5 separate regions of the Homo sapiens genome follow, and all the other regions are linked to region 5. Evidence: promoter capture Hi-C in 16 types of primary human blood cells and fetal thymus (Javierre and others, 2016). All regions are on one chromosome and are shown on one strand. The core of a region is centred on a gene start or on the middle of the fragment in contact, and the rest is flanking DNA. Distances in the headings are between cores, read along the strand shown. Region 1 overlaps ABL2 (ABL proto-oncogene 2, non-receptor tyrosine kinase). Region 2 overlaps ABL2 (ABL proto-oncogene 2, non-receptor tyrosine kinase). Region 3 overlaps ABL2 (ABL proto-oncogene 2, non-receptor tyrosine kinase). Region 4 overlaps ABL2 (ABL proto-oncogene 2, non-receptor tyrosine kinase). Region 5 holds the start of AXDND1 (axonemal dynein light chain domain containing 1).

What was found. The method cuts DNA at HindIII sites, captures the fragments that hold promoters and counts their contacts. A CHiCAGO score of 5 or more calls a contact.
Region 1: a contact is called between a fragment that was not itself captured here and the fragment with the promoter of AXDND1 in region 5, in 3 of 17 cell types (activated CD4 T cells, neutrophils and naive CD4 T cells). The highest score is 6.3, in activated CD4 T cells.
Region 2: a contact is called between a fragment that was not itself captured here and the fragment with the promoter of AXDND1 in region 5, in 1 of 17 cell types (activated CD4 T cells). The highest score is 5.2, in activated CD4 T cells.
Region 3: a fragment that was not itself captured here is called in contact with the fragment with the promoter of AXDND1 in region 5 in 1 of 17 cell types (naive CD4 T cells); the score reaches 6.2 in naive CD4 T cells.
Region 4: a contact is called between a fragment that was not itself captured here and the fragment with the promoter of AXDND1 in region 5, in 11 of 17 cell types (total CD8 T cells, naive CD4 T cells, activated CD4 T cells and 8 more). The highest score is 17.1, in total CD8 T cells.

What each region holds. Positions count from the first base shown.
Region 1 is chr1:179,201,786-179,206,043 of GRCh38, forward strand. The region is part of intron 1 of ABL2 (ABL proto-oncogene 2, non-receptor tyrosine kinase); the gene reads right to left. It also overlaps the pseudogene EIF4A1P11. Among named protein-coding and RNA genes, the nearest start is that of ABL2, 26 kb to the right of the region's middle. The HindIII fragment of the contact is 5,678 bases long and covers 1-4,258 here.
Region 2 is chr1:179,177,394-179,181,513 of GRCh38, forward strand. All of the region lies in intron 1 of ABL2 (ABL proto-oncogene 2, non-receptor tyrosine kinase), which reads right to left. Among named protein-coding and RNA genes, the nearest start is that of ABL2, 50 kb to the right of the region's middle. The HindIII fragment of the contact is 1,030 bases long and covers 1,843-2,872 here.
Region 3 is chr1:179,137,735-179,142,260 of GRCh38, forward strand. The region is part of intron 1 of ABL2 (ABL proto-oncogene 2, non-receptor tyrosine kinase); the gene reads right to left. Among named protein-coding and RNA genes, the nearest start is that of TOR3A, 58 kb to the left of the region's middle. RefSeq lists an enhancer at 1,084-1,590. The HindIII fragment of the contact is 3,277 bases long and covers 1,408-4,526 here.
Region 4 is chr1:179,119,405-179,123,850 of GRCh38, forward strand. It overlaps ABL2 (ABL proto-oncogene 2, non-receptor tyrosine kinase), which reads right to left. Exons shown (of 12, transcript NM_007314.4): 5 at 2,191-2,463; 6 at 786-870. Among named protein-coding and RNA genes, the nearest start is that of TOR3A, 40 kb to the left of the region's middle. The HindIII fragment of the contact is 3,901 bases long and covers 956-4,446 here.
Region 5 is chr1:179,364,582-179,369,139 of GRCh38, forward strand. It overlaps AXDND1 (axonemal dynein light chain domain containing 1), which reads left to right and starts at 1,390. Exons shown (of 26, transcript NM_144696.6): 1 at 1,390-1,419; 2 at 1,823-2,025; 3 at 4,219-4,391. The coding sequence starts at 1,929. RefSeq lists enhancers at 941-1,340, 1,721-1,790. The HindIII fragment of the contact is 9,843 bases long and covers 1-3,337 here.

The DNA of each region.
Region 1 (4,258 bases), core at 419-2,918, 160 kb before region 5:
GGTTGAGGTGGACAGTTTGGCCATAAAGGTGTGGCTATTAACATGGTGACAGAAGAAGACAAAAGGACTCTTTGAGACATCAAGACCCTCTACAACACCTCCATTGAGGAAATGCCCCTCAATGTTGCCGACCTCATCTGAGGGGCTGTCCTGCCACCCAACCCCAGCCAGGGCTCAATCTCAGGGGTCCGAGGAACAGCAGGAGAGGAGAGGGAAGGGAGCCAAGGGATGGACATCTTGTCATTTTTTTTTCTTTGAATAAATGTCACTTTTTGAGGCAAAAGAAAAAAAAAGATTTAAAGATAGTAAAAAAAAAAAATAATCTCAGCACACTGGGATAAATATCATTTGATGCAATTTAACATATATATCATTATTGGTCTTCTATACTGTAACAGAATTGGTAACTATTAATACTTTTTCAGCAAAGAAAAGAAAATCTTGGCTCTTATTTCTGCTTATTACCAATTAATATGCAAATTTCCAGATTAGCTGCTAACAATATGGAAGTGCTATTCTTTTAAAAATCACCACCTAAAAACTAGTCAGGAAACCCACGCTTCCCTCTTCTTAAAAGAAATTAACTCATGACATTTTAAAAGGAATTAGCCTTGCTGTCCTCCTACACATTTTTGTTTTCAATAGTTAACAGTATCTTAGACTGAGTATGTTCTGTTCAACAGGTCACATAAAAAAATTAACATCACAAGAATATTTTACCTCAGCTTAAAAAATAGGAAAGGAGCCTAAATACCTGTATACAAATGTGTACTTCCTTAGTTTTTGGTTACACCAGCAAATTAAGTAACACTGGACTGTAAGTGAATCAGTGATTGATCTGTACCCTGAAATAACTGCTGAAATGTCTTCTGCCTTTTTCCCCTACAATCACTTCTGTTAACATATGTCCTGTCCTCATGTAAACTTAATATGAGCTCAACAGAATGAAGAATACAGACGCCTTCAAGGAACTGAATCTAACAGAAGAAACAAATAACAATAAAAATTGTAAGACAAAAGTACTGGATGTTAAATAGTGTGAAAAGAAATAAATGTGAAGTAAGTTCTAAAAAGAGGTAAAAACAAAAACCAACCACCAAAAACCCTTTCTCCTTCAATTTAAGATCTCCAGTTTAGAAGGTTCAAAATACATGAGTGAAAAATGACAACAAAAAATTGCTTTGTATATGTTTTGGTTAGCAATACAAAATGATACACACATCAAAGAGGCTTAAAAGGATACACCCCAGAACTTTTATTAGATTGTTGTCTCCCAGTAGGAAAGTGGGTATGGGGTTTGTTTTTAGTTTTTGCTTGATTTTTTCCCGTAATAAAACATACTGCATTTGTAAAAAGAACAAATCATTTTTTTCATTTCCCATCAGAGAAGTAAAGGAAGAATGTAGTATATAAATGGCTTATATTTTTTCTATTTCCTAACGTCAAAACAAAATCTCTGTGTTTTAATAAACATTTTATACTTGCACAAAGAATGAAGGTTTTCCTCTCTTCTGTTGCCTTTGTAAGCTGTTTCCTTAAAACTCAGTGATCAAAATAAATAAAATACAACTAAGTACTCCAGAAAAGATCTTCAAATTGGAAACCAGTTAGTATGCACCATCACCCTCCCTATCAGTACAGACTGCCCTCTCACTGAGGTCATCCTCTCCAGGTAACTTTCCTGGATCATCCCTCATTTTCAAGTATTATTATCCCAAAGATCATTCTTCTCAAAGTAAACAGTCTTTTTTTTTTGTTGCTATGTTCACTGCAAATAAGAAAAAAAAAATAACCTCTATTTGTATTATTGTAACAAGCTATGCAAAGAAGCCCATGCATTAAGAAAGGCATCTTGGTAGGCAATAGCTTACAGTTAGGTCTCAGGTCTCATGTTCCAGCTCTGGCCCCACATGCTATACATTATTTCATTTAGTATGAAATTGGGATAAGAGAATTCTTTTGTCAAATTACGTGCCAGTATCACGCTGTTTTAAATACTGCATTTTTATAACAGGCAGCATAGCCTGGTGGTTAAGGCAGTACACTTGAGCTAAACTGCCTGGCTCTTTGACCCTTCTCTTTACTACTTCCTTGGCTGTGTGGCCTTGCGCACGTTATTTAACATCCCAGTAATTCAATGTCCTTATTTGTAAAACGGAGATGATAATGATACCTATCTAATAGAAAGAGCTGATGTGAGGATTAAAAGTTTTAGGCTTTTAAAATATTTCCATTTATTTATTTATTTATTTATTTAGAGATGGAGTCTCTCGCTCTGTCGCCCAGGCTGGAGTACAGTGGCCTGATCTCAGCTCACTGCAACCTCCACCTCCCAGGTTCAAGCAATTCCCCTACCTCAGCCTCTCGAGTAGCTGGGATTACAGGTGGGCGCCATCACGCCCAGCTAATTTTTGTATTTTTAGTAGAAATAGGGTTTTGCCATGTTGGCCAGGCTGATCTCGAACTCCTGACCTCAGGTGATCCACCCGCCTCTGCCTCCCAAAGTGCTGGGATTATAGGCATAAGCCACCACCTCCGGCAAAATATTTCCTTTTACATGCTATCTGCTCACTGCAAAAAAATATTCAAATAACACAGACATATGCAGAGTTAAAAGTGAAAGTTCCCTCCGCATCTCTACTCCCACCCAGCAAGGAACCTACAAAAATACTAAGATGAGCTGGGTCTGGTGGCTCACACCTGTAATCCTAGCACTTTGGGAGGCCGAGGCGGGCAGATCACTTGAGGCCAGGAGTTCAAGAACAGCCTGGCCAACATGGCAAAACCCCCTCTCTACTAAAAAATACAAAAATTAACCAGAGGTGGTGGCGCATGCCTGTAATCCCAGCTACTCGGGAGGCTGAGGCATGAGAATCGCTTGAACCTGAGAGGCAGAGAGTACAGTGAACCAAGATCACGCCACTGCACTCCAGCCTGGGTGACAGAGCAAGACCCTGTCTCAAAAAGCAAAACAAACACACACACAAAAAAACTAAGATGATTGTTTTAGACCAACTGATAACTTATTTGTTTCATTCACAGTTGTCTAGACCAAGAGAAACCTCCTCTGAATCTGATTAATAGACTCTGTACATCGGTTATTCTAGAGTTTCAGATAAATGTAGTTACTAGATAGAAACATGAGTAGTGTCTCCAACGAAGGGGCTCAGAGTGCTGCATGTAACATAATGGGTGACCCAAATATTTAGCAACCAGCAGAGCAAAGTCATTACAACTCTTTTTCTTTTTTTTTTTTTTTGAGACTGAGTCTCACTCTGTCGCCCAGGCTGGAGTGCAGTGGCGTGATCTTGGCTCACTGCAACCTGTGCCTCCTGGGTTCAAGAGATTCTCCTGCCTCAGCCTCCTGAGTAGCTGGGATTACAAGTGTGTGCCACCACACCCAGCTAATTTTTGTATTTTTAGTAGAGACGGGGTTTCACCATGTTGGTCAGGCTGGTCTCAAACTTTTGACCTCGTGATCTGCCCACCTCAACCTCCCAAAGTGCTGGGATTACAGGCATAAGCCACTGCGCCCGGCCCATTACAACTCTTCATCAAATATTTCCAGCTGCCCTCCCAGGCACATAACAAAACTACACTTTCTCCATGCCCCCCGGCATTACATGAGACCACATGACTTGCTTTGGCCAGTGAGATATAAAAGGAAGTGACATATATCCCTTCTGGCTTTTAGTTTCCACTAGTACTTGACTCATTACTCTGTTTCTCTCTGCAATGCTAACTGCCAGCTTTCTAGAACGATGGTTGAAGACTCTGTCAGCCTGGGTCTCTGGGTGATAAAAAATGGGTATAGCCCACCTCCCACCTCCTTTGGGGGGTCTGAGGGGGTAAGACCCACCTCCTGATCCATATGGGACATGTATTACAAGTGACAAACTTTGGATGTGTTAATCCACTGAGATTAGGGAGGGCGGGTAAGGGGGATTGTTGTTGTGGATACTAACTTATTACCTAGTCTATCCTGATTAGACAGACCAACTGATTCTAAAGTTAAAATAAAATGTAAGCAAACAAGAACAGCCAGGAATATTCTGAAAAAATAACAATGAAGAGGAACTAGCCCTGCCAATAACAGCAAAAAAATAAAGACCTAATACTTATACAACACCAACTACAGGCTAAGTACTTTTCTAAGCACTTTATATAGCTTAACTAATTTAATCCTTGCATCAGCCCTCTATTAGATAGGTATCATTATCATCTCTATTTTACAAATAAGGACATTGAATTACAGGGA
Region 2 (4,120 bases), core at 1,108-3,607, 190 kb before region 5:
CCATCCCCCTCCAACTACAGTCATCCTCAGGGAGATTGTTTCTGGGAGCATCTTGCCCTAGGACTAACAGCAGAATTCAGAAGGGCAGTCAGTTGTTACTACTGTTTCCTTCCTTATCCAACAAAACTTCAAGAAACAGTAGATTAAGGAACCTGGGATTTAACCACAATTAATTCATTTAATTTGATAACAATTAATTCATTTAATTGGAGGTGGTAAAACAGTTACCTCTTTTGTAAATCTAGTATTTCAGGGACTATCTGGGAAACCACAGGTGGTAAAATCAACTTTTAAAATATTTAAGAATAAAAAGTGGACAGTCCTTTTCTGCAAAGTTAGACTATGTATTAAGAGGTTATGAAACCAGTATAAAAGTAGCTTTTTGGTTGGAGAATAAGAACTTCTCATACCTCAGTCATCAGTAACCAAGGGAAAAATTGCTATTAAAATTTCTTTTCCGTAATGAATTATGGTCCATTTGGGCATCACAGACTTCTAATAGAATACCCACAATACGGGATCCAAGACTCTGGTCTCCCTACTCATTGTATGTATAAAACATTCTGCTATGTATTTAAGGTGCTATGTAAATATGCCTATACTAATATTTCTGCAGGGATATAATTACATAAAATGGAATACACAAATTTTGGAAATAAAAGGTTCAAGTTCCAACATGCCAAAATTCTACTGAAAGTAACAACTATATTAAAGCTTGTAGTGACCAGGTACAGTAGCTCATGCCTGTAATCCCAGCACTTTGGGAGGCTGAGGCGGATAGATCACTTGACGTAAAGAGTTCCAGACCAGCCTGGTCAACATGGTGAAACCCTGTCTGCACTAAAAATACAACAATTAGCTGGGTGTGGTGGCATGCACCTGCAGTCCCAGCTACTTGAGAGGCTAAGGTAAGAGGATTGCTTGCTTGAACCCAGAAGGCAGAGGTGGCAGTGAGCCGAGATCCCGCCACTGCATTCCAGACTGGGTGACAGAGCAAGACTCTGCCTCAAAAAAAAAAAAAAAAAAATTATTTGTGTAAGAAATCTTTAGAGTATGCAGATTCATGCTCCAGAAACCCAAGGCATTTTTAGTAAGCTTATAGTTTCCTCGTCCACTGTTTCAACTAAATGACCTTATAACTAAAATTAGGAACAGAGAGAATAAAAACTTATGGCAAAAGTATCAAGATCTGGACTTTAAAAAGTAAGAACATCGGGCGGGCATGGTGGCTCATGCCTGTAATTCCAGCACTTTGGGAGGCCAAGGCAGGTGGATCACTTGAGGCCAGGAGTTCAAGACAAGTCTGGCCAACATGGTGAAACCCCGCCTCTACTAAAAATACAAAAATTAGCTGAGTGTGGTGGGCTGGGGGGGGTGCCTGTAATCCCAGCTACTCGGGAGGCTGAAGTAGGAGAATTGCTTGAACCCGGGATGTGGAGGTTGCAGTGAGTTGAGGAGCCATGATCACACCACTGCACTCCAGCCTGGGCAACAGAGCAAGACCCTGTCTCAAGAAAAGGAAGAACATCTAAAATAAAGCCTTCTTATAGGAACAAATAATGTTAATACCCACTGACCAAGTCATTAAATCTGAGGAATACCCAGATTACATAACTTTTGACATCAGAGTATAAAAGAAAAGGAGCATTGATAAAACAGTGGAAATTAGGAAACACAACTACATTAACAACAGTTACATCCTAAGCAGGAATACAATTTAATGAGTCACCAGTTTAAAATGTGCAAAACTCAGACCTAAAAGGGTAAGGCTTATATAATGTTGTCCAATTATTTAAAGTGCTCAGATAATTCCTCCACATGAGGATTAACTCTGCAATTCTAAGCTTCCTACCCAACGTCCCAATCCCATAATAGGCAATCACATTATACTAATTATGACTGTCATGATTTATACTCATTGGAATACTGATTATTTCACAAGTCAAGTGTCTAAGCAATTTTGACCTTGAAAAGGCAAAAAAATAAAATTTAAAAGCCGAGATATTCAATATATAATGTTATATAATGTAAATATTAGGAAACAAGAGCAACAGCTATCTTAAAGGGTTTTTTTTTTGTAATAGAAAGTACCTAGGAAGAACAGGCCCAGAGTTAGGGGGTACTAAGGTAAAAATAAGACATGGTCCCTGGCCCTCAAGAACCTCATGTACTAATACGGGAAAAACAAAAAAGTAAATCAGCTATTATAATACAGAGATATGGCCTGAATGTTTTTGGTATCATAGAGCAAGAGTGTCTACTAGGATACACAAAACGCAGAGAAGCCCTCTTGAAAGAGGACTCTTGGCCTGAGTCTTAAAGGAAACTCAAGAGTTAGCCACTGAATAAAAGCAAGTTAGCATGTAAAATAGTACAACTGTGATATATATTAATACTATATTCTTTCATTCAAGAAATATGTCTTGGCTGGGCATAGTGGCTCATGCTTGTAATCCCAGGACTTTGGAAGGGCGAGGCAGGGGGATGACTTGAGGTCAGGGGTTCAAGACCAGCCTGCACAACATGGCGAAACCCTGTCTCTACTAAAAATACAAAAAAAAAAAAAAATTAGCCAGGTGTTGGTGGCACACGCCTGTCATCCAAGCTACCTGGGAGGCTGAGGTGGGAGGATCACTTGAGCCTAGGGAGGTTGAGGCTGCAGTGAGCCATGCACTCCAGCCTGGGTACTGCACTCCAGCCTGGGTGACAGAGTGAGACCCTGTCTTAAAAAAACAAAAAAAAAAAGGGGGGAAATACTTCTGGACCACCTACTGTATGCCAAGGACAGGCTATATTTACAGGCCCACCTGTACTTTAGTATGGCTACAGCCTCAGGAGCATGTATGAGATTGGGAATGCACCAAATTATGAAAGCTTTGGATGCTCTGTTAAGGAGTTGGGACCTCACTCTGAAGATGGTAAGAAATCAATAAAAGCTGGTAAGCAAGGAAGCAATAAGATCAGAGTTGTATATACCCTGACTCAGGCTTTCTTATACGTTCCCTCTGAGGAGCTGCCACGAAGGTTCTAGAGGAGAGGAAGGAGCTGATATGTCCCATGTTTCACAGATACTGAATGAGACTCTGCTGCTAAGGCCTACCACCTCTCTACCCCCATGTTCTATCATCAGACTTCACTAGTGGAATAAAAAGGTCCAGTACCAGTAGCAGGTAGGAAACAGAAAAGTAACAGAGAAGAAAGAGAGTTCCCGTGGCCAAGGTGCATAAGGGTCACCTCCAGGGAACTATTCATATTTTAAACAGAACATTATACCAACAAAATAATAGAGGATATTAAAACATCTGATAACAAAGTAAATTTTATGTTGTGTTTATTTTATCACAATTTAAAATAATTTTTAAAAGAAAAAAACCATCTGAAATTTAGGTGAAACATTTTTCTATTCTGTCATTTAAAATGATAAAGATCAGTTCAGAGTATACTTAATAATAATTCCCCCATTCTTCCTTCACATTTAAAGAATTCTTCCAAGTCCGCCCCCTACCACAAAGCTAAATGTGCAAAAATGCAAAAAGCGTGATAATTATTTCATTGGGGGAAAGAAGAGAATCATATCCCAAATGGACAACATCCAATAACCAACTATCCTTTAGACTTGCAATGGTGCAAACTGCCACCAAAAAGAACACACATGGATTTGGACACATTCTAACAGTACAGCTGTCTGTCCAGGCATGCTGCTGAAAGAACAGTACATTCCTTCTTGTTCCATCTTCCACCCACCTTAAGCCCCATTATGAAACGGAGTTTAAACAAAACTATCATATTTAAGCCTCTAATATATGTGTGTTTTCAATAAGATCAGCTAGGTAAAAATAGTGGCAGTAAACCCCTCCAACATTGCCCTAAGATTAGAGTCTGAAGATTTCTGAAGAGGAAAATAATTTTGGTAATGTATATTTGTCAAAAGTTTCAACTTGAGATTGCAATCTAGGTGCAAAGATAGGGAAATAAGTTACTAACTTTCAGAAAACTGATATAGTATGGTAGAGGAGTGAGTATTGAGAATCAGAGTAATGGGATCTGAGTCCTAAATAACTAGCCTATCAGCAGCTTTGTGACCTTGGGAAAACTGCCCAACCTCGCTGAGCTTCAGTTT
Region 3 (4,526 bases), core at 1,796-4,295, 230 kb before region 5:
ATCACCCTGAGGGTGAGGACAGTGATGCAATATTGAGCAGCTTCCTGGGCTCACACAATCAGGAGCTGGCCAAGAACTGGATTTCCACAGTGGACATAAGGGGCGCCACGGGCACTGTGGAGCTGCTGTGGGCCACTGACTGGAGGCCAATTCTGGACCGGGTGCCTTACATCCACAGCAAGTTTAAGAAGGATGATTGATTAAACTGATGCCTCCATGAACCCCTCTGCTGTCAGGTGGTGCCAGCTCCTCCCATGTCAGCGCCTGCTGCATCTGCAACAGCCCAAGCTCTCAGGATGGACGCTCAGGGAATCTACAGTGCAACTTAAGATTTCTTGTATTTCTGAAAACAGCTGGGGTGTTTTAAGCACACAGCATTAAACCTCACTATGAAACCTGCCCCCTGCCTGGATATTAATCATGCTGATAACTCAGTTACTTTGATTACAGCTCCAGAGAATGACCCAGGGATCTTTTCAAGCTCCAAAATGCTGCCAGTTTAGGAGAGTTTTCCAGTGGCTGTCAGATATTGTTTAATTATTATTATTGAGACAAGGTCTTGCCGTGTTGTCCAGGCTGGTCTCAAACTCCTGAGCTCAAGCGATCCACCTGCCTTGGCCTCCCAAAGTACTGCGATTACAAGCACGAGCCACCGCGCCCAGCCTGTTTAATTATTTTAAATGTTTATTGGGGAAAAAGAAATCCCTAGTAATTTGAGTGAATACCACATGCAAGGCACTGTGCTGGGCTTCAGAATATAAAGATGAGAAATCACTAATAACACCATTGGGACTCAATATGCAAAACTATCATCCATCCTTCCCTCCAAATTTGTTTCTCTCACTGAATTCCCCATTTCAGTTAATGGCAATTCCATCTTTTCAAATGTTGAGGCCAAAAACCATGGAATCCTTCATGGCTCTGAGAGGTGACAGTGTGCTGGCAGTCCTCACAGCCCTCGCTCGCTCTCGGTGCCTCCTCTGCCTGGGCTCCCACTTTGGTGGCACTTGAGGAGCCCTTCAGCGCACCGCTGCACTGTGGGAGCCCCTTTCTGGGCTGGCCAAGGCCGGAGCCCACTCCCTCAAGCTTGCAGGGAGGTGTGGAGGGAGAGGCGCCAGCAGGAACCGGGGCTGCCTGCCGCGCTTGCGGGCCAGCTGGAGTTCCGGGTGGGCGTGGGCTTGGCGGGCCCCGCACTCACACTCGGAGCAGCCAGCCAGCCCTGTCAGCCCCGGGCAATGAGGGACTTAGCACCTGGGCCAGCGGCTGTGGAGGATCTACTGGGTCCCCCAGCAGTGCCAGCCCACCGGTGCTGCGCTCAATTTCTCGCTGGGCCTTAGCTGCCTTCCCGCGGGGCAGGCCACCCACCCAGCAGTGGCAACCCACTCGGGTCCCCTTCCACACTGTGGAAGCTTTGTTCTTTCGCTCTTTGCAATAAATCTTGCTACTGCTCACTCTTTGGGTCCACACTGCTTTTATGAGCCGTAACACTCACCGCAAAGATCTGCAGCTTCACTCCTGAAGCCAGCAAGACCACGAGCCCACCGGGAGGAACGAACAACTCCAAACGCGCTACCTTAAGAGCTGTAACACTCACTGCAAAGGTCTGCAGCTTCACTCCTGAGCCAGCGAGACCACGAACTCACCAGAAGGAAGAAACTCCGAACACATCTGAACATCAGAAGGAACAAACTCCAGACACGCCACCTTAAGAGCTGTAGCACTCACCGCGAGGGTCTGCGGCTTCATTCTTGAAGTCAGTGAGACCAAGAACCCACCAATTCCGGACACAGCTCCCTTCTTGCTCTCACAAACAACATCCAATTCACTCAGAAATTCCATTGGCACTGCCTTCAAAAATATATCCAGAATCTAACCACTTCTCATTCAGTACCACTTCATGACCACCATCATCTAGGTAAGGGGACCCCAACCCCTGGGCCACAGACAGGTCTGTGGCCTGTTAGGAACTGGGCCACACAGCAGCAGGTGAGCAGCGGGCCAGCGAGCATTACCGCTTGAGCTCCACCTCCCGTCAGATTAGTGGAGGCATTTGATTCTCACAGGAGCTGAAACCTACTGTGAACTGCTCAAGCAAGGGATCTAGGTTGAATGCTCCTTATGATAATCTAATGCCTGATGATCTGAGGTGGAACAGTTTCATGTGAAACCACCGCTCCCCACCCAGTCTGTGAAAAAATTGACTTCCATGAAACTGGTCCCTGGTGCCAAAAAGGTTGGGACCACTGATGTAGACTATTTCACTAGACTCCTGATTTCCATGCTTCCGTGCTTGTTCCCTACTGTTTATTCTCAACATACCAGCCATCTTTCAGAGCATAAGTCAGATTGCTACTCCTCTGTTCAAGACTCTTCAAAGGTTCCCCATTTTAGAGTAAAAGCTAAAATCCTTAAAGGCCCTGCAAGGTCCTTCACAATTGGTCTTGCCCAGCATCTCCTGCTGCTATTCCTCTACCTTATTCTGGCCACTGACATCAATGCTATTGCTTGAACAAAGCAGGCACACTTCTGCCTCAGGACCTTTGCGCTGGCTTTTCCTTTTGCCTAAAACACTCTTCCCCATGACATTTCACCAAATGTTACCTTCTCAGTATGTCATTCTCTGATTATTCCATTTTAAAGTACATCTATTCTTGATAACACTCTCACATCCCCCACTGACTCCTTTCCTGATTTATTTTATCTCCATAGCTCTTATTACCACCAAACATAGTGTATAATTTACTTATTTATTATTATATTCATGTATCTAAGTCTCCTTGCTAAAATGTAAGTTTTATGAGGACCAGGATTGTTGTCTGTTTTGTTCACTGAACAGTGACTCCAGAACAGTGTCTACATATAAGAGGCTCTCAAAAAAGATTTGCTGAATGAATGAACTATGTATACATCCTTACTCACAGAGGATGCTATGAGAGGAAAGAATATAAAACAAAACTCTAGAGTCTGGCAAGGTTTCAGACTTAAAATTAGATAAACATTTAAACTGGATGAACGCAGGCCAGGCACAGTAGCTCATGCCTATAATCTCAGCACTTTGAGAAGCCAAGGCGGGAGGATCACTTGAGGCCAGGAGTTCAAGACCAGCCTGGGCAACATCATGAGACTTCATCAGGTGTGGTGGCTAGCGTCTGTAATCCCAGCACTTTGGGAGGCCGAGGTGGATCACCTGAGGTCAGGAGTTCGAGACCAGTCTGGCCAACATGGCAAAACCCTGACTGGGTGTGGTGGCGGGTGCCTGTAATCCCAACTACTCGGGAGGCTGAGGCAGGAGAATTGCTTGAACCCGGGAGGCAGAGGTTGCAGTGAACTGAGATCAGACTGCTGCACTCCAACTTGGGTGACAAAGCAAGACTCTGTCTCAAAAAAAAAAAAAAAAAAAAAATTAAGTATTGGCTGGGCATAGTGGCACACAACTGTAGTCCCAGCTACCCAGGAAGCTGAGGTAGGATTGTCTGAGCCTGGGAGGTTGAGCCTGCAGTGAGCCAAGATCACACCATTGTACTCCAATCTAGACAATAGAACAAAACCCTGTCTTTAAGAAAAAAAAAAATTAGATTAATAGGAATTCTGCACTGATGACAGTAGAGTGACAGACTGTCAATACGCAAGGACATGTTTATAATAAGGGGAAACTCTGAACCCAAAAGAGGACTCTTAAAGACAAGTCAACTTCCTGAAAGTTGTGTTATCTGACAAAAGGAGAAAACAGAATGAGATCTACAGCACGATTTTATGTAAATTTAGAAGATATATGCAGGCCAAACAATATTATATTTCTGAAATATGTAAAGTAATAACTATAGGATAAAAGTAATTTTTGAGGCCAAAGTACTAAAAGAACCACAACTTAGAAAACAATCCTTCTTATTCCCCATTCCCCTTCTTCCCGTCTCTGGTTTTACGGTCTTTTTGGTTGAGTCAAAAGATCTTATTTCCTTCCTTTCTTCTTTCTTCCCACTCCTCTTTTGTTCTCAAAGAACTTAGGGTCAATTTCCTGCACAATCTGTCTGCACAGGATATCCACTTAAACACCATTCTACCCATTAGCACCAAACAAAAGGAAAACTTTTTCAAAGAGAAAAACACCCTAACATTTTTCTGAAGCTAAGAACGAACATATTTTGAATCATAAAGAGTAAGGGAACTAAATGAGGGGGAACAAGATAAGGGATAAAGGCAAAAACAAAAGAAAACAAAAGCCTGTGGGAAGAGCAAGTAAATGTCAGTGTTACCCAGTAGCTATAGTCTATGTCACTTTCCTCATTGGTTAAGACAGACATGTCTGGATGATTCAGATGTACTGTATACGCCCAAATGCAAGTGTGTGGGCTGGGAATGGTTTATTTTTGAACAAAATGAAATGACTACTATAAATTAGGTAACTTAGATATCAAGTTAACTTATCTTCCATTATTCACTGCTATAGAGGTAGATCAGAGATTTAAGATGGGATAAGAGAAGACTGATTTTCACTCACATGTAAAGAACCTAGATAACAGAAATAT
Region 4 (4,446 bases), core at 1,656-4,155, 240 kb before region 5:
GCACGTTGAGGCACGAGAATAGCTTGAACCTGGGAGGTGGAGGTTGCAGTGAGCCAGGATCATGCCACTGCACTCCAGCCAGGGTGACAGAGCAAGACTCTGTATTTAAAAAACAAACAAAAAAAAACACCCCCCACACCCCCCCAAAAAAAAGAAAAAAAAAAAAACCTGGCCCTATTTTAAAAAAGGAAAAAGGCTTAGTAAGAGAGTTCTTTGTGACCTGAACAGTGAAAAGCCAATCTAACATAATAAAGCATTTCCTGCTTGTAAAGGTAAACTGAGGGGTGTGGTCACAGTTTTTAATTTGCTTCTTTTCAACAGTCCTTTGTTTAATGTCTCTTTATTTTGCAAAAACATTTCATGAGTTTTTGGTTCAGTACCATTTTGAACACTTCTGAACTTTGAATCTGGGGCAATTAGTACAAACTGAGCAGTTTTATACACCAAAATCAATCCAGGCCACTGTTTCTTGGGCTATTTTTAAACACAGAACCTACTGATTAAAATAACTATTTATTGAAGTGGATTCAAACCTGCAGCTTCCACCATGGTGACTAAAAAGAAAGGTTTGGGGGAGGAAAAAAGGCGGGGCATGGTGGCTCATGCCTGTAATCCCAACATATTGAAAGGCCCAGGCGGAAGTATCACGTCAACAGCAGCCTGGACAACAGAGCGAGACCCTGTCTCTATATTTAAAAAGAAAAAAAAAAAGCATTTGGAGATAACAAGGGGTTAAAGGGCAAGCATTTTTGGAGGAAATCTATGGTTCAGGCAAGGTTCCTCACCTAAAAGTTGTACCAGATTAGGATGCTTGATTTCCTTCATTACTGCAGCTTCTTTCAGGAATTCTTCTACCTCCATGGTATCTTCCTAGAAAAAGGGAAAGGTAAGAAAGAAGAAAACGAGAGGGACAAACCCTCAACTTAAAATCATTTCATTCATCTCACAATCATAAAGCTTCAGCTTTAAAAGTAAAAACTATCTTTTGAATATTTTAGCATATTACAAGATATAATTATTATTTTAATTTAATTTATTTTTTTGAGACACGGTCTCGCTCTGTTACCCAGGTTGGGGTGAAGTGGTGTGATCTCACTGCAACCTCCGCTTCCTGGGCTCAAGCGATTCTCCTGGCTCAGCCTCCCAAGTAGCTGGGATTACAGGCATGCACGACCATGCCTGGCTACTTTTTGTATTTTTAGTAGAGACGGGGTTTTGCAATGTTGGCCAGGATGCTCTCCTGACCTCAGGTGATTCGCCCACCTGAGCTCCCCAAATTGCTGGGATTACAGGTGTGAGCCACCACGCCCAGCTGAAATAATTATTATTTTAAGAAGTCCAACTTAGAAAGAAAAATGCCCTGGAGTAAAAATTAGCAGGAGGAGCAAAATTCAGCAATCGTGTCCTATAATCAACTGAAACACAGGAGCCCTGTATTGGATAGTTCAGTTCTCTCATAGTTTACTTCTCCAGATATCTCAGGCTTTGAATGACGAGACAGAGCACTTAGCTGCTTACATACTTATCTTCTTGCTTAGATCATAATCTTCTTAGAGAGCAAGGCCTTATATATTGCTTCACACTCAGAATATGCTTAAGAAACAGAACTGACTACTACTTAATAGCTAAAGAATAGCCCTTATAAGTGATACACCAGAGACAGTTACTGAGGCTCTGGGAGAATCAAGTGAGTGAAAACCTTATAATTTGATACTGGGATGTTTAAAGGAGACATATAGTAGTACTACGAAAAAGATTTCTGTTAATATTAAGAAGTGATCTAACTGCAAAGAGACAGGAGGAACAAGAACAAGGGAGAGAAAGGACAGAACAAGAAAGAGGCCCATGACTCTCAGACAAGAATTCTGTCCAGCAGGGGTCGTTCTCAGGAAGCAAAAGAGCTTATTTTGCTTTTATAACTTTTAATTTGCTTCTAACCTCCCACTAAGATCTACATCAACAGCCTCCAGAGACAGACCTTTCCCACATGTGGGTTTCACTGCATTGCAGTGAATAATCTACCTCTGCATTGTCAGCAATGGCACTAGGGTTAATCATCTCAATTTGCTGATGTGCTTGGCACTAGTGGGTGGAAAGTGTTCCAAAGTTAAAGAAGGGCATGCTGATATTTCCAAGTGATTGAGCACAAAAGAAAAAGATGCCTGAAAACTGTAATTCTCAGCAACCCACCTTCAATGTTTTCACAGCAACTGTAAGGCTGTATTTCTTCCAGACGCCAACGTAAACCTCTCCATACTGACCGCCCCCAAGTTTGTGCTTCATGGTAATATCTGTTCGCTCCATTTCCCATTTGTCGTGGATGGGGGACACACCATAGACTGTAGGCTTATTACACTTGGGTGCTGGGTAGTGTAATGTTGTCACCAGCCCATCAGCCACTGTGGAGTGATGGTGTACAAGCTCTGCCAAGGTGCTGAAGCGGCTCTCAGCAGTCACATACACCTGGTAAGAAAAGGAGAAAAGCTAAACAACTTGAAAAGAGATTAAGAATTTTTTTTTTTTTTTTTTTTTTTTTTTTGAGATGGAGTCTTGTTCTGTCACCCAGGCTGGAGTGCACTGGCGCGATCTCGGCTCACTGCAAGCTCCGCCTCCCGGGTTCACGCCATTCTCCTGCCTCAGCCTCTCTGAGTAGGTGGGACTATAGGCGCCCGCCACCATGCCCGGCTAATTTTTTGTATTTTTAGTAGAGATGGGGTTTCACCGTGTTCTTGATCTCCTGACCTCGTGATCTGCCGGCCTCAGCCTCCCAAAGTGCTGGGATTACAAGCATGAGCCACCGCTCCCGGCCTAGGAATTCTTTTTTAAAGCCCATATTTCACTGGCCTGAAGATATAGATAGAAGGCTATCTTTAAAAAAAAAAAAAAAAAAAAAAATATTCTGCAGACAGGGTCTCACTATTGCCCAGGCAGGTCTCAAACGCCAGCCTCAAGCAATCCTCCTGCCTGGGCCTCCCAAGGTGCTGAGATTACAGACTGGGCCAGTATACCCAGCAAGAGTTTATCTTAATTGAGGTAAATAAAAAAGTTAAATGATGATTGCAAGGGTAAACACAGAACTTCAGTTTAATCTTATTTAATCTGCCTTTCCTATTCTTCCTAAATTAGTCTTGGGAAAAACCTTCCAAGATCTCTCTCTGGATAATCAAGCTCATTGGTCTTCAAATATATATATATTTTCAAATATATATATACTCAAATTATGTATTTTTTCAAATATATATTTCTTTTTCTTTTTTTCTTTTTTTTGAGACAGAGTCTCACTCTGTTGCCCAGGCTGGAGTGCAGTGTCATGACCTCAGCTCACTGCAACCTCCGCCTCCTGGGTTCAAGTGATTCTCCTGCCTCAGCCTCCCAAGTACCTGGGATTACAGGCATGCGCCATCACGCCTGGCTAATTTTTTTCTTTGTATTTTTAGTAGAGATGGGGTTTCACCATGTTAGCCAGGCTGGTCAGGAACTCCTAACCTCAAGTGATCTGCCTGCCTCAGTCTCCCAAATTGCTGGGATTACAGGTGTGAACTACCACGCCCGGCCAGTCTTCAAATATTTTTAAGCCACAAGACTATGGACTCAACTACAGAAGATACGTAAAGAAGAGATACCCTGATCAAAGTAGGCAAGCAAGGACTTGGCCTCTTGTAGAAATTTACAAAATATCACCTTAATCTTGTAAAAAACATAACTTGAAAACCACTGATTTAGATTTTTTTGGTAAGAGTATTCAAATATCTCATAATTTTAATTATGACGTGCAGTTGAGTGTCTAGGCCATTAAAGAAAGAGCCACAATTTACCGGTGGCCAGGAGCAGTGGCTCACACCTGCAATCCCAGCACTTTGGGAGGCTGAGGTGGGCAGGTCACTTGAGGTCAAGAGTTGAGACCAGCTTGGCCATCATGGTGAAACCTCCTCTCTACTAAAAATACAAAAATTAGCCAGGCTTGGTGGTGCGTGCCTGCAGTCCCAGCTACTTGGGAGGCTGAGGTGGGAGGATTGCTTGAACCTGGGAGGTGGAGGTTGCAGTGAGCTGAGATCACGCCACTGCATTCTAGAGTGGGTGACAGAGCAAGACTCCATCTAAAAAAAAGAAAAGAGCCACACTGGATTTCACAGAATTGCTTACAAAATAGTTGTTAATTTGCTAAGCAATAAGAAATGTAAAGTAAGAGGGAATTCTCTGGACTTCTCTCCCAAGGGAGCCTTAATTTTTATGTATTTTTGAGAAATAAGGGTCTCACTCGGTTGCCCGGCCTGGAGTGCAGTGACACAATCATGACTCACTGCAGCCTTGACCTCCCAGGTTCAGGTGATCCTCCTGCCTCAGCTTCCCGAGTAGCTAGGACCACAGACATATGCCACCATGCCCAGCTAATTTTTAAAATTTTTTGTAGAGATGAGGTTTCACTATATTCCTCAAGCTGGTCTT
Region 5 (4,558 bases), core at 140-2,639:
GTGGCGCCATCTCGGCTCACCGCAACCCTTTCCTCCCCGGTTCAAGCGAATCTCCTGCTTCAACCTCCTGAGTAGCTGGGATTACAGGCGCGCGCCACCTCTCTTGGCTAATTTTTGTGTTTTTAGTAGAGACGGGGTTTCACCATGTTGGTCAGGCTGGTCTCGAACTCCTGACCTCGTGATCCACCCGCCTCGGCCTAAGAAAGTGCTGGGATTACAGGCGTGAGCCACCGGCCGCTGATGGTATTCTTTCCTGAGGGCAGATTTTCACGCCAGAAGCCCCGACAATTATACCTGAGCTGGTTCCACCTAAGCTCAATCCTCCTTCCCTGCCCCAAGGGGGTGAAAAATCTGGGCCCAGGAGGCCTTCCTTGTGCTCTGGGGGGAGGCATTTAAGGGTCCAAGGAAGACGTGACCGAAATGTAAAGCACTGGACGGCTTACCCAATAAGGGACCCAGCGTTTCTTATTACCCAACATCCCCCTGAGTCTGGCTTTTAGAAAAATATGCAAAGCGTCCGGGCGCAGTGGCTCACGCCTATGATCCCAGCACTTTGGAAGGCCGAGGCGGGCGCGGTCAGGAGTTTGAGACCAGCCTGGCCAATATGGTGAAACCCCGTCTCTACTAAAAATACAAAAATTAGCCGGGCATGGTGGCCCCCGCCTGTAGTCCCTCGGGAGGCTGAGGCAGGAGAATCGCTTGAACCTGGGAGGCGGAGGTGGCAGTGAGCTGAGATCGCACCATTGCACTCCAGCCAGCGCGACAGAACGAGACTCCGTCTCAAACAAAACAAAACAAAAAACAAACTACAAAATTAGCCGGGCATGGTGGCGTCTGCCTGTAGTCCCAGCTGCTTGGGAGGCTGAGGCAGGAGAATTGCTTGAACCCAGGAGGTGGAGGTTGCAGTGAGCCGAGATCGCACCATTAAACTCCAGCCTGGGCGACAAGAGGGAAATTCCGTCTCAGGGGAAAAAAAGAGAAAGAAAGAAAAAGAGGAAGAAAGAGAAAGAAAAATATGCAAAGCAACAAAAAAGAGAGCTAGAAAGATGGAAACAACTCAGAAGACCCTTGCTTAACCCGCGTGCGTCACGGGCTACAGGGGTCGGCCCCTCGAGCTAACCCCCACCGGCGCCTGCGCACTGGCCTGGCCCGCGGCAGGAAGCCCCGGCGTGAGACACTTTCGGATTCCGTGACAACGGCGGGATTAAACGTTTTTCTTCTCCTTTGCTACTGAACCTATGCTGTGACTTAGAACATAAGAAACTCCAAGAGGGTGTAGGGATTGTCTTAGCTGTCTCCCTCCTCCGCCGGCACCGCTGAAGGCAGCCCCTATGGAGGGCGCTAAACCTCGGGGCCCTGGGTTTCTATGACGACAAACAGGCGTTCCAGCAAAGGAGGAAGTGAGCGGATGCTGGGCGGGTACGCAATGTGTGGGTAGGATCGCGGGTGTCCCTTTCCCGTCATTTTAAACCAAGAAGCAGTGCGAGGCCTGCCCAACTCGCGAGTTTGTGGAACTGGCGCGCGAGAGCGCTGCCTGTGGGGAAGGTATGGTCCCCAGCCGAGCCGCCTGCAGCGAGTGTCCCCCACCAGGGGTGCCGGCGGTCTGCGGGGTCCGCCGAGCGGGTCCTTCCTGCCCTGCTCCTTGACCCCGACCTGACGGTCCACTAAGGCTTCTTAGTCGCTACACATAACCCCAGAACATAGAGGTCGCCCCGAAGAAGGAGAACCATGCTAGATGAATTCTAAACTGCGATCTGAACCTAAGTACTCAATAGTTGTCATCTTTTTTTTTTTTTTTAAATCTTTTTTCCTCTGCCTGCAGGACTATGTGGCAGCCTGCAAGTCCCAGTGCGGCGCTGATTTGTGTCTAAATTAGCTTTCCGGAGGACTATTTCAAATTACTAAAGAGATAGGAGGCATTGTTTATTATGTCTCTCCCGAAAACGCCCTCCACCCCGCTAAACTCTACATCAACATCTGAGAGCAAAAAGTTAAAAGTGTCTGTAGCCAAGGAAGGGACAAGAGGTAAACTTCGTTGATTCTGAAGTCATAAACAGTCATGGCCGTAAGACAGAAATCACCTTCCATTCACCGGTTTTTTAAATCTGATATTCAGAATACCTTGATTGGCTACATTTTTCTAACACACTTGCTTAAATAAAGCAAGAAGTCATTCCTTTTACAGTATTTTGAGTCAGAGTACTGTTTCACTACTCCATCTAAATACAGTTTATACTTTTTTTCAAATGTTGATTTATATATGATTTTAAATTCAACCTATTTTAAATATCAATAGTTACGTATTTTTTGGTTCCTGGTCTTTGGCTTTAAGGAACTTTGGAAAAAGTAATAGTGAGGCAGGGCGCGGTGGCTCACGCCTGTAATCCCAGCACTTTGGGAGGCCGAGGTGGGCGGATCACTTGAGGTCAGGAGTTCGAGACCAGCCTGGCCAAATATGATGAAATCCCGTCTCTACTAGAAATACAAAAATTAGCCGGGCATGGTGGCTCGCGCCTGTAGTCCCAGCTTACTCTGGAGGCTGAGGCAAGAGAATCGCTTGAACCCAGGAGGTGAGGTTGCAGTGAGCCAGGATCGAGCCATTGCATTCCAGTCTGGGAGACAAGAGCAAGACCCCATCTCAAAATAAATAAATAAATAGGCCGGGCACAGTGGCTCACACCTGTAATCCCATTTGGGAGGCTGAGGCTGGCGGATCACGAGGTCAAGAGATTGAGACCATTCTGGCCAACATGGAGAAACTCTGTCTACTAAAAATACAAAAATTAGGGGGGGCGTGGTGGCTCGTGCCTGTAGTCCCAGCTACTCAGGAGGCTGAGGCAGGAGAATCGCTTGAACCCGGGAGGTGGAGGTTGCAGTGAGCCGAGATTGCGCCACTGCACTCCAGCCTGGCGACAGAACGAGACTCCGTCTCAAATCACGAGGTCAGGAGTTTGAGACCAGCCTGACCAACGTGGTGAAACCCGGTCTCTACTAAAAATACAAAATTTAGCCTGGTGTGGTGGCACTCGCCTGTAATCCCAGCTACTCGGCAGGCTGAGGCAGGAGAATCACTTGAACCCGGGAGGCAGAGGTTGCAGTGAGCCAAGATCTTGCCACTGCACTCTAGCCTGGGCAACAGAGGTAGACTTGGTCTCAAATAAGTAAATAAAGAAACAAAAAGTAATAGCAGAGATAAGAGAAACTCAATTTAGTACAATGTGCCAATTTGTATTAGCTTTTAGTAATTTTTCTAAATGAGAGCAATTCCTTAAGATTTTCGTTCATATGCGGATCTGTACTAGAGTCAGCTAGTGTTATCCTTACCCGGTTCTGTTAAAGCTTTTCCCATCTCACCTGCACCTTGTACTAAAACCCCAAGCCCCACCCAACTTTTTTTTTTTTCTTCTGTTTCTTTTGATCTCAAGCTCTCAGGAGATTTGGTAATGTAAACCCTAACAACTTTTGATAGTAATCAAAGCATGATACCTCCTTATAGAAATAAACATAAACCATACCATGTTACAGGCATAGATTAAGAAGAATAACAACTCAACCCTACCTGACTGACTTCATAGGAGGGCTTTTCCTACATTATCCCAACTACCTGCCTTTATTACTCCCCTGCCCTAGTCAAGCAGGGTAGAACACTCTTTTTACAGTTCCCATTCCACAGATTTGTCAGCTCAGATTGTTCCACTCTCATTTGCAACAATCCCAGTTCCATCTTTACTTTTAAGCCCAACCCAGAGCCTTTCCACTCTATAAATGCCTCGATTTAATGCAATTATTCTCACCTTTGAATTCATGTAAGAAAAAAATTACTAAATAATTTGACAGCTTGGGGGGAGAGATTTGTGATTTTCATATGAAAGGGAAAATAGACATTCATTCCTGTCTTCTTAAGGCTCTCCCAGTTACCTGAGCAAGTGAAATGAGTTTAGTTTTCAACTTTGAATTGAGAATCATGCAGGTTCATCTTGGTACCTGAGTTTTTGAAACTGTGTCTGATGTAATGTGAGTAGGGTAGGCAAGATGAATGTTATTTTCCTTGACTAGATGATGTTCACTGTTTTCAATATTATTTGTTACTATCTTTGTCAAATAGAAGCAATGTTTCTCTCTGTTAGAAACAGATGGGATTGATGAGGCAGTCTGAGAAGCTCCATCTAACTTAAAAAAATATATAGTAAGAGTTTTTCTTTTCCACTACTTACTTAGGACTTCCTGAGCTAAAGGAGAAAAAAAATATGGTGGATCGTTCAAAACTCCTTCCTACTTCCCTTCAGAATGAGTTCATTCCCAAAGAAGTTCTTCTTTCTCTGACCTATGCGGCCAATGCTGGTCCTTGTCCTGAAAACTTACTACCTCCTAAGAAAATTAAAACCCCAAAGGTTTGTATGTACATATGTAGAGTAATGGGGAACATTATTTTTTGGGCATCTGATTATTCTTTAAGTATTTATTATGCACATATTATATATTCCAGATAGCCTTAAAAATTTTAAGATTGATTGAGACAGGGTCTTACTACTGTGGCCCAGGCTGGAGAGTAGTGGCC